2 separate regions of the Homo sapiens genome follow, and region 1 is linked to region 2. The links are contacts of gene promoters, found by promoter capture Hi-C in blood cells and fetal thymus (Javierre and others, 2016). All regions are on one chromosome and are shown on one strand. Each heading gives the region's core, a stretch centred on a gene start or on the middle of the fragment in contact. The rest is flanking DNA. Distances are from core to core; before and after follow the strand shown.

Region 1 (5,534 bases), core at 2,266-4,765, 2.0 Mb before region 2:
TCTGGGTTACATATGGGACTTCACATTTGGCTGAGTGAAATATTTTTATTTTATAAACTTCATTTTTTTGTTTTTATTTTTCTGAGAGAGGGTCTTGTGCTGTCACCCTGGCTGGAATGCAGTGGCGTGAACTTGGCTCACTGCAGCCTTGACCTCCCAGCTTTAAGCAATCCTCCTGAGTAGCTGGACCACAGGCACATACCACCATGCCTGGCTAATTGTTTAATTTTTTGTAGAGATGGGGTTTTGCCATGCTGCCCAGGCTTATATACTATACACTTTAAAAATTAAGCTCTAGAAAAAATATGATCTTAGTCTTCAGTGTGGTGCAAGGAAAGTATCAGAAAATGTCTTTCACTTCTTGTTGGCACATTATATGGTTGAAACCAAACATGCTTTTTGTTTTACAGGAAACTTCGGCTGTTCTCAGGAAATTCTAAGCATCGCTGCCATGATGCAGATCCAGAATATCTTTGTGGTCCCCCCAAACCAGAAGTCTCACGCAGTAAGTCAGCTCTGTCCCCAGGCTGTCTGTACCAGTCTCTTTTGCTTTGAGCTTTCGTTGTCAAAACTGTACTCAGGAACTGCTGAAGACAGAGCTGTACAAATGTGATCTGCTCATGTTTTGAGTGTTTATTCCGTGCTTGATGTTGTGTCAGGTGTTTTGCAGGCATCATTCCACTTTATCTTCATTATAAGCCTGGGAAGTAGATATTATTATCATATTTTATTTATTTATTTATTTATTGAGAGGAAGTCTCGCTCTGTTGCTCAGGCTGGAATGCAGTGGCGTGATCTCAGCCCACTGCAACTGCACTCTGCCTCCCAGGTTCAAGTGATGCTCCTGCCTCCCATGTAGCTAGGATTACAAGCGTGCTCCACCACGCCCGGCTAATTTTTGTATTTTTAGTAGAGATGGGGTTTCACCATATTGGCCAGGCCGGTCTCGAACTCCTGACCTCAGGTGATCCGCCCTTGACCTCCCAAAGTGCTGGTATTACAAGCGTGAGCCACCGTGCCCGGCCTATTATCATATTTTAAAGATGGAGGCATAGAGAGGTTAGGTAACTCATTCACAGTTGCACAGCCAGAATTGTTGGCTCTGGATTCACAGTCCAGAGCCCCACACCTTAACCATTGAACTACCAACTTCTAGTTTCTGTCAGGGAAATTGTCATTCAGACTGCTCTGCTAGAAACCTTGGTGGGCACATTAGTGACATAAGAAGTCAGGTGCCAGGGTATAGCAGGCTGATTCTGGGCACCACACGACATCATGGTCATGTTGCAGGTGGGCCATTATAAGCTAGAGAGATCCAATCCCCACCTAAGGTGCAGGCATCAGCAATGACTAATTGAGTGAACACTGGAAAGACGGAAGGACAAGTTTTGATACTGAAGAGATAGATACTCAGAAGTAAGGTGTGTTGATAGAGGTAGGTCAGAGATGAGTTCAAAGTCAGTTCCTGTTTGAAAGTCAGAGAATTAGCAGCCTTATGCATGGAGGGGCTGAATTTGTATGTGTAATGAGGAGGAGAGAGACTTTCTTAGGGATTGTTGGGATCCTCCTTGTCAGTTGTATAACTATAGATTACAAAGTTTTTCTGCCTCTGTGCCCAGATGCTTATGTCTGTTTTTGTTTAGTTTTGTTTTTAATTAACCTGGAGGAGGAGAGAGACAAGAACACTAACATTTTATCAAATTTCTTTGCCAGATACCTTGTAATAAATTATCTTAATCCACAGCAATCTTGATAGGTTTAGTTTCCTGATTTTACAGATAAGGAAATCAAGGCTGAGAGAGGTTAAGTAACCAAGCTGAGTTCTTTCAAGATATGGCAGAGCTAGAATGCTGCAAACTAGGTCTTTCTGAATCCATAACCCACACGCTATTCACCATGCAATATTACTTCCAGTGCAAAAGTCAATTTCTTTCTTTCTTTCTTTTTTTCTTTTTTGAGACAGGGTCTCGCCCTGTTGCCTTGGTTGGAGCGCAGTGGTGCAAACATGGCTCCTGGGCTCAAGCGATCCTTCCACCTCAGCCTAGTAGCTGGGGCTTAGAGGCATACACCACCATGCCCTGCTGATTTTTTTTTTTAGCTTTTGTAGACATGGGGTTTACCTATGTTGCCCAGGCTGGTCTCGAACTTCTGGGTTCAGGCAATCCTCCCACCTTAGCCTCACCAAATGCTGGGATTATAGGTGTGAGCCACCACACCCAGCAAAGAGTGAAATTCTGAATGTTGCTTCATTCTTTCCAGATTCGAGTGCACCGTAAATTTGCTGTGGAGGAGGGCGACCACCTCACTATGCTCAATATATATGAAGCATTTATCAAAGTAAGCACAACTACTGCTCGAAGTGCCGCCTCAACACACCACCCTCTGGAGGTGATCTAGGAGGGAGGATCCCAGAAGTTCAGTTCGTAAAGGAATGTCCAAGAGAGCCCTTGATTTTCCTGTTAGATTTATTGCCAGTACTTCTAACTGGTGGGTCGGGCTTTCTGCCTGAGTTTGTGGTGAGGTATTGCTGAGAAGAACACAGGAATCATTCATTGCTTTCCCTTGCTTGGAGATATGGTACACTAGTGGCAGGCCAGTGGCCCAGCCTCACGTCATCTCACATCCACTGTGCAGTAGACAGAAAGGCAACATTTGAATAGGAAGTTCTGTTACATTTTCTGCCAGGTGAATGAGGCTGAGAGCAACTTGTAGTCCTGGGTTGAATCTTCAAAGCTGTCCCAGCTGCCATGAGAAGACATTTAGTTGAGATCTGTGCATATTCACATATCCCACCCATATTTAGCTATAAGTGATGTTAATTTTTTATTGTTAATATTCTTTAAAACTAAGCAAATAATACAGCTTAAAGTTCTCATGAAAAATTGTTAATAAAGGTGATGAAAATGATGAAAAAAGTAACCTTACATAAAAGAAAGGGTATAATACTTCAGATTTTTAATACTCATTTCTTAAATACTCTTTTAGAAGTGAAGAAATACTAAATTTTTGTTTACCAGTGATTTGAGGAAGATTATTCAGTTGGTGAAAAGTTTTCAGAAAAAAGAAATTCACTCTTTTTGAGACTTACGGCTTAAATCAGTTAAAATTCATTTGTACAGGCACAATGTATCATCTGCAGTCTGAAGCTTTCTCTACCACTAGAAAGTGGGTATAGGTCTACATTGTATTATTCTATGGTTGCCTTCTTGGAATATCTTCTATTAATTACATTTTCTTTTTTAAAGCACTTTAACTTACAATAGAATTTCAGAGGTACATTTCCACAGCAATAATTTACTCTAAGACATAATGATCATACTTATGAATGCAGAAAAAATTAAATACTGTTGATAGAAAAATCATGCTTTGGGGACAAATAATAGTAATTTGTAAATTATTTCTACATTGGCAAGTGTCATATTGTTGGCTTCTAGTATAATAAAGTGATACATTCAAGCATGCCAAAGAAGAAAAGTTGATTTACAAAGAACCACGTGGAGAAATGGTTCTTTCTGATAGTTCACATCTCATGAAGGTATGTAAGATTGAAACCGTTTCTGCGTGTCATTAAGTTCTCATTTGCCCTTTAGTGTAAAGAGTGAGGTTGCAGAGCAGTCAGATGTGTGCAAGGTTGTTAACATCTGTTTTGAGAGATGGGGCAAAAAAGGGCCAGTTCCCATCTTTAGATCTTATGCCGTTGAACAGCACATGGGGGAAGAGAGAAGAATGATCTTTACAACATAGCCTTAGTCGAGAACATATCTGTTTTCTAACTCCCTCTCTCTGGGTTGTTCTGTAGCACAATAAGGACTCTAAATGGTGTCAGGAACATTTCCTGAATTACAAGGGTCTTGTCAGAGCTGCGACTGTAAGAGAACAATTGAAAAAGCTTCTTGTCAAGTTTCAAGTGCCCAGGAAGTCTAGTGAAGGTGAGAAGAAACCGTCCCAGCTGGTGACCTCCCTTGCTTCATTCTGTTGAGTTGTCTTCCTAAAGTTCTCATGCTGGGCTGGTGCGAGGCAGTGTGGCGTGCTCTGTACCAACACTGGGTTTTATATTTTGAGTTGCCTGCATCTGTGAAAAGCTGAAGGTCAAGTTGCGTATTTTTTCCAAGGAGGTCTATTTTTCTTTCTGATGGGCATTCTTACTAAAGGAATTTCATAGCCCATGACAATACTTAAGAATCACTAACAGTCACATCAGTGCACATCATGTCATTGATTTTCCCATGTAGGCTTTGCAAGAAAAATTACTTTTTGATCAGTGATATTAGTAGCTATTACATAAAAATTAAATTTTATATTCAAAGACAAGTATTATTAAAGCAAGTGCTGGATATTTAGCCTAGGCAGCCACTAAAGGTAAGACAGAAAAGTACTATGTAAGACGTAGTCTCTGGCCTCTAGCAGTGACAGTGACTACTATTAATCAGGGACACAGTAGGTTACGCTGTGGCAGGGGTTCTCCAAATATTCTCTTGCTCAATCTCGCACTCTGTGAGGTGTCGGTAATGTTATCCTCATTTTACAATTAGTCGTAAGATCCTAGGGAGAAGGTAGATTAAATTCAGGACCACGCAACTGGTAAGGAGGAGAGCCAGATCTGTATGTGGCTCAGAAGTCTACGCTTTTAAGGAAGTGACACACCCGCCTCAGCAGTCAGCCTGAAAGCCTAGTGTGCCAGGTACTCAGCCACATCCTCAGCACCATTAGTACTTGGTAACATTTCCTGAGTGCTTATAAGTGGCTAGACAGTGCACTGAGTGTTCCATGTGTTTATTAATTTAATGCTCACAACAACGCTGTGAAACGTGTGCTCTTTTCCCCATCTTATAGGTGAGAAAAGCGTGGCTAAGAGGTAAAATGTAACTTGCTGAAGTTACACAGTGAGGGTATGATGGAGTCAGAACCTGAGCCCAGGCGGTTCCATTTAAGTCTTCTTTTGTCTTTATACTAAGAGCAAGTGATTAAACAATGACGGAGTCTTGGCTTTTACTCTAAGGGAACAGTGTAATGAAGGGAGAGATTCATATGGATAGACAAAGTACTAAGATTATCAGTCCTCTTCGAAGTTAAAGTAGTAGATACTTTAGTAATCATAGAAGACGTGCTGGCAGATGTGGAAGGAATGCCGGGAAGAAGGAATCCAGAGAGGGCTAGCTTGGGAAGTCTTTCAGCTTCCTTGAGGTGTGGTGGGAGTCCGGTCAAGCTTTGGGGTCTGGTTGAATTAGAAAATGGTGGCAAAGAGCACTCTAGGGAAGGAGGACTGGAGACAAGTGCTTGGAGTGAGGAGTATATGAGACGCTCAGAGAATATTTGATGGGTGAATACACTCACGAGAGAGGGAAGAGTTGAAACCTGGGCCATTGAGCCATGTTGGAGTCATTGATAGAAACAGGATGCTTACAAGGAGCACCTAGTTGGAGAGCAGCTCGTCAAACGCCTGTCACCCAGCAGGTAGATGACAGCCTTACTTCAGCAATTGGTGTTCTTCACCTGTGTTTCATTATCAGACCCCTGCCCAGGAGAAAAGTTAA
Region 2 (5,044 bases), core at 2,536-5,035:
TGTGGAGCTCTTCTTTTAGTGGATTATCTATAAACCGTCCACTGTTCCCAATGCATACTTTGGAGACAGACCTACACTACCAGTTTTCACCTGCTAGTTATTTTTATAAGGGTTGGGATGGTCCATGAGTGAACAGTCTTGATTTAAAGCAGTGTTTCCCAAACCTCATTTATTTGCCTATAGCCTTCCTGGAGTTTGTCTTATATGTCCGCTCTGTGCACTATTCCTATATGTTTTTATGTAAATCAATCACTTTTTTAAAAAGCCTCATCCCAGTTATATCCTTAAAACAATGGTTATTTTTTCTCATACACATCGAAATACATATCTATTAGAATTAAAATGCTTGTCCATGCACTATCAATAATCTCCTCAAGTACCATATGGTGGGGACATGTGTTTGAAGTGTTAGGAGTCAGGAGTGGTCTCTGTAAGACAGAGTAAGTCAGTCAACCTCTGAGCACTGCCAGCCACACATGCTGGCAGAGAAGTTCAGCCTGTGACAAGACTGCCCGGATATTTCCATGTCTGTGCACGGGGATGTCCTCGGTCTGCCATTGTGAAGTCTGTGCTGTTTTCATGCCTACCTAGTCTTCTTTGGAGGGGCCTGGAAAGCAAATGCAGGCTGGGTACAGTGGCTCATGCCTGTAATCCCAGCACTTTGGGAGGCAAAGGTGGGCAGATCACGAGGTCAGGAGTTTGAGACCAGCCTGACCAACATAGTGAAACCTTGTCTCTACTAAAATTGCAAAAATTAGCTGGGTGTGGTGGTACGTGGCTGTAATCCCAGCTACCCGGGAGGCTGAGGCAGGATAATTGCTTGAACCCAGGAGGCGGAGGTTGCAGTAAGCCCAGATGGCACCACTGCACTCCAGCCTGGGTGACAGAGACTCCATCTCAAAAAAAAAAAAAAAAAGAAAAAAAAGCAAATGCAGATTCTCCCTGGGAAACGGGGGGTTGGGAGAGTGGAGTAGTGTGGATGCATTGTTATTCCTGAAGGCCGTCCTCAAATTATCTTGGACTCACTGCAGCAAGCAGATGCCTCATCTTCTGGCCAGGGATTGATCCTGAGATGGGAAGAGTATGAGAAGAGACACCAACAGCAAGGCAAAACTGGCTCTGGCAGCTTGCTTCAGAGAAAGAGTATAGCTTTGGAGTCAGGCCGACCTGAGTATGAATCCAAGACTCAGCACTTACTAGGTGCCTGCCCTCAAACCATTATTTTTTGATAGTCATTACATACCCACAATGATCACCATGGAGTGGATGAGGAAACAGGGACTCAGAGAAGTTAAACAACTTGCCTGATATCACACAGGTAACAAACAGCAGAGCAGAATTCAAACCTAAGTTGATTTGACTTCCAAATGTGTGCTCCTAACCAAAGCAGGGTAACCTGCTTTGATTTGCCCATTTCTTGAGCACCTCTTCTGTAGGAGGGCCTGTTGCTGGGTGCTGGGAATTCAGTGGTAGGCAAGATGGACAAGATTCCCCCCTCTCACAGACCTTGCTTGCTATAGGGGAAATAGACAGGAAACCAATTACTACATTTGTAACTTAATAACAAGTGTCATAAGTGTTACAAAGGAGATAGATACTATAAGGCACCTTTTATTTTTATTTGTTTATTTATTTTTTGAGACTCACTCGCTCTGTTGCCCAGGCTGGGGTACAGTGGTGCGGTCTCGGCTCACTGCAACCTCTGCCTCCCAGGTTCAAGCGATTCTCCTGCCTCAGCCTCCCGAGTAGCTGGGATTACAGGTGTGAACCACCACACTCTGCTAATTTTTGTATTTTTAGTAGAGACAGGGTTTCACCATGTTGGCCAGGCTGTTGTTGAACTCCTGACCTCAAGTGATTGATCCACATTGACCTCCCAAAGTGCTGTGATTACAGGCGTTAGCCACCGCGCCTGGCCTATAAGGCACCCTTGGTCAGCCAGTGGAAGCAGGGTCAGTAGTGCGCCGGAGAGTCACTTTGAAAAAGTGATATTTAGGTTGATCTTGAAGCATTCACAAGATGTGGTAAACACATCTAATGGTAAACATGTGATGGTAAACATTAGATGTGATAAAGATACTGATGGTCCACTGGATGAACAGTTTTCATATTTACTTCCAAATGATTTCATAGATATTATTTCACAGATAACACTTAGGATGAAGGTAAATAAAAAGGAGATCAATTAAAATATGAAATAATAATAGTGAAAGTGGTAATAGATGTGGCAATATCCACAAAGGAGTAATGGTTAGATTAGCATATTGAGAAGATCACTTTGGCAATTGTTGGAATGCAGTTTACGAGAGGGCCAAGAATGGAAGCAGCAATCCCTGTTAGAAGTGTAGTGTTTTGGAGTGCGGTGTTTTTTGTTGGTTTGTTTTTTGTTTTTTTTAAACCAGGTCTCACTCTGTTGCCCAGGCTGGAGTGCAGTGCAGCCTCGACCTCCTCCTCGGGCTCAGGTGATCCTCCCACCTCAGCCTCCCGAGTAGCCGGGACTACAGGCACATGCCACCACACCCCGCCAGTTTTTGTATTTTTTTGTAGAGTCAGGGTTCTGCCATGTTGCCCAGGCTGGTCTTGAACTCCTGGGTTCAAGTGATCTGCCAGCCTCGGCCTCCCAAAGTGCTAAGATTACAAGTGTGAGACACCACCCCCAGCCAGCACATTGTATTAATCCAAGCAGGAGAACGCAGACTTCAAAGGCTTATGGGCAGCAGAGAGAAGTAGATGAAGCAAAGAGATGCAATCAGCGGGACTAGTGGGAAATGAGGGAAAGGAAGGTGTCAGGATGGGGCTTTTTCTAGCTGAGTGGAGTTCAGTTCATTCCCAGAGAAGCTTGAGAGGTATCCAACTATAGATGCAAGGTAGCTGGCTGTTGGTCCCTTGTCTTTAGGACAGTTTGACTTTTGTAATACAGGCGACCTCACAGAGCTATTGTGAGAATTCAGAGCTGGGCACAGAATAGATGCTCTATAAACGGTAGTTCTATTCCCCATTTGCCCCGTCCTCCCAGCATGCCAGGGATACAGGGGCGGATAGAGACAGGTTCAGTTCCCTTTGGTCTCTTGCATTCCCCCTTCCCTCAGCACAATTCCTGGGCTCATAGCGGATGCTCAATAAGTATTTGTAGAATGAACCAAAGAAATCAGACCCTTGGTGACCCAGGGCTACATGTACTCGGCGGAAAACTGGGGTTAAACCGGACCCTTGGTTGGTTGAAAAATTAAAATAATTTTTAAAAAGTGGGCGTGAAATAATCCAGAAGTTGGAGGGCCTGGACAAAGGCTGGGGAGGGGACTCCTCCCACCAGGCGGCCTCAGGGTCGGCTTAGCAAGAAAGGAGGCGCTGGGGAGACCTCTGGGGTCCCAGCTGCCAAGGTACTCGCCGCTCCAAGGAGATGCGGACGCCGGATACCAGCTCTGCCCAAGATTGCTGGGTCCCGCCGCGGCCTTTAAAGGCCCACCACGTGGCTGCGCGGCCAGCCCTGGTCCGGAGGCGGTGCCCGGGTGGCGCCTGCGCACTGCCTAGCAGAGGGGCTGGGGTTCCGAGAAAAAGCGTCTGGAGAGGAAGGGGAGGCTGCTTGGGGTGGGACGCCGTGGGAGGAGTCGGCTCCTTATGCAAATCACAGCGGAGCGCGCACGGTCCGGAGGCGGGGCTTGCGATGCAAAGACAGGTCCGTCTGGCGAACAGCGAGGGGGCGGGCCGCAACCCTCTGCCTCTTTCCGCGAGCGCTGACGTCGCCGACGTGTTGTTTAAAAGCGGCCGCGCAGGCGCAGTGAGCCCAAATGCGAACTTAGGCTGTTACACAACTGCTGGGGTCTGTTCTCGCCGCCCGCCCGGCAGTCAGGCAGCGTCGCCGCCGTGGTAGCAGCCTCAGCCGTTTCTGGAGTCTCGGGCCCACAGTCACCGCCGCTTACCTGCGCCTCCTCGAGCCTCCGGAGTCCCCGTCCGCCCGCACAGGCCGGTTCGCCGTCTGCGTCTCCCCCACGCCGCCTCGCCTGCCGCCGCGCTCGTCCCTCCGGGCCGACATGAGTGGGGACCACCTCCACAACGATTCCCAGGTACGGCCCGGCCTGACCCTGGCGGCCCCGGACCCCGGCCTGGCCGTCCCGCGACCCCCGGCGCAGGCCCCGACCCCAGCCCCGGCCCGGCAGCTTTGACAGGCCGGAGCCCCCGGTGAGGGGCCGCCTGCCGGAGTAGATCGGCTCGCTAGGCCGCGAGCGAGGGCCGCGAAGTTACAGTTCGAGGCAGGGATGGCTGCCCTCTGTGGCCACCCCCGGGTCCCCGTCCTCCCCGGGGGCGCAGGGTGAGCCAGACCCCGGCCGCGCGCGCTCGCCGCCGGAGGGGTTAAAGTGGCTGTTGTTTGATATTCTCTCCTTTTCTTTTTCCAGATCGAAGCGGATTTCCGATTGAATGGTGAGTGTGCCCCCTGCGCCGACTCCGGGGCCCCCCAGCCGCCGGCCGCCTCCCCCGCGCCCTGCCGGTGCCGGGCAGAGGACAGACATGGCGTCCCAGAGACTAAGTCCCGGCTCCTCGCTCACCGGCCCCATTGTTCCCATCGGGCCGCCTCTTGACCCCCTTTCCGGGGACCCCAGCTCCTCCAGATCCCGGCCCTCCCAAGAGGGGACAACGGAGACCCCGTGTCGTCCGCCACCGGGCCTCGGGCGGTCTTTCCGGGCCGGGATTCCTCCCGGGAAAGTCGCCTTGTCGACGGTCGGGACTTAGTCTCTGCGCCATTTTCTTTTTCTCTCTCCTCTCCTTTCTGTGCCTGTGTCTCTTTCTCTCCCTCCCTCGGCTCTTTCCTTGAGCTGCCCAGAATGAGCTTTCTGCAGAGCAAAGCCGTATAAATCACATACTTCACCAGAGAGGGAAGGCTGGGGGACTGAATTATTATTTTTTAAACTTTATTTTGGGGGTTATTCCCTTTATGCTTCATGTTTGTTTCCTTTTCTGCTTCCAGAATGAAAGATTTCCTTAAGCAACTGTTAATTTTTTTTTTGATAGGCTGTTTATGATAGGAATTATGGCTCTAAAACTAAAG

The links. Contacts are between HindIII fragments. The CHiCAGO score rates a contact against its expected background, and 5 or more counts as called.
Region 1: a contact is called between a fragment that was not itself captured here and the fragment with the promoter of TOP1 in region 2, in 1 of 17 cell types (endothelial precursors). The highest score is 5.8, in endothelial precursors.

What each region holds. Positions count from the first base shown.
Region 1 is chr20:39,021,431-39,026,964 of GRCh38, forward strand. DHX35 (DEAH-box helicase 35) reads left to right here. Exons shown (of 22, transcript NM_021931.4): 16 at 411-505; 17 at 2,260-2,337; 18 at 3,800-3,929. Among named protein-coding and RNA genes, the nearest start is that of DHX35, 62 kb to the left of the region's middle. The HindIII fragment of the contact is 743 bases long and covers 3,145-3,887 here.
Region 2 is chr20:41,025,037-41,030,080 of GRCh38, forward strand. TOP1 (DNA topoisomerase I) reads left to right here and starts at 3,786. Exons shown (of 21, transcript NM_003286.4): 1 at 3,786-4,064; 2 at 4,395-4,419. The coding sequence starts at 4,032. LOC100128988 (a long non-coding RNA gene) reads left to right here. Exons shown (of 3, transcript NR_145525.1): 3 at 1-360. RefSeq lists silencers at 3,485-3,836, 4,057-4,126. The HindIII fragment of the contact is 6,355 bases long and covers 2,837-5,044 here.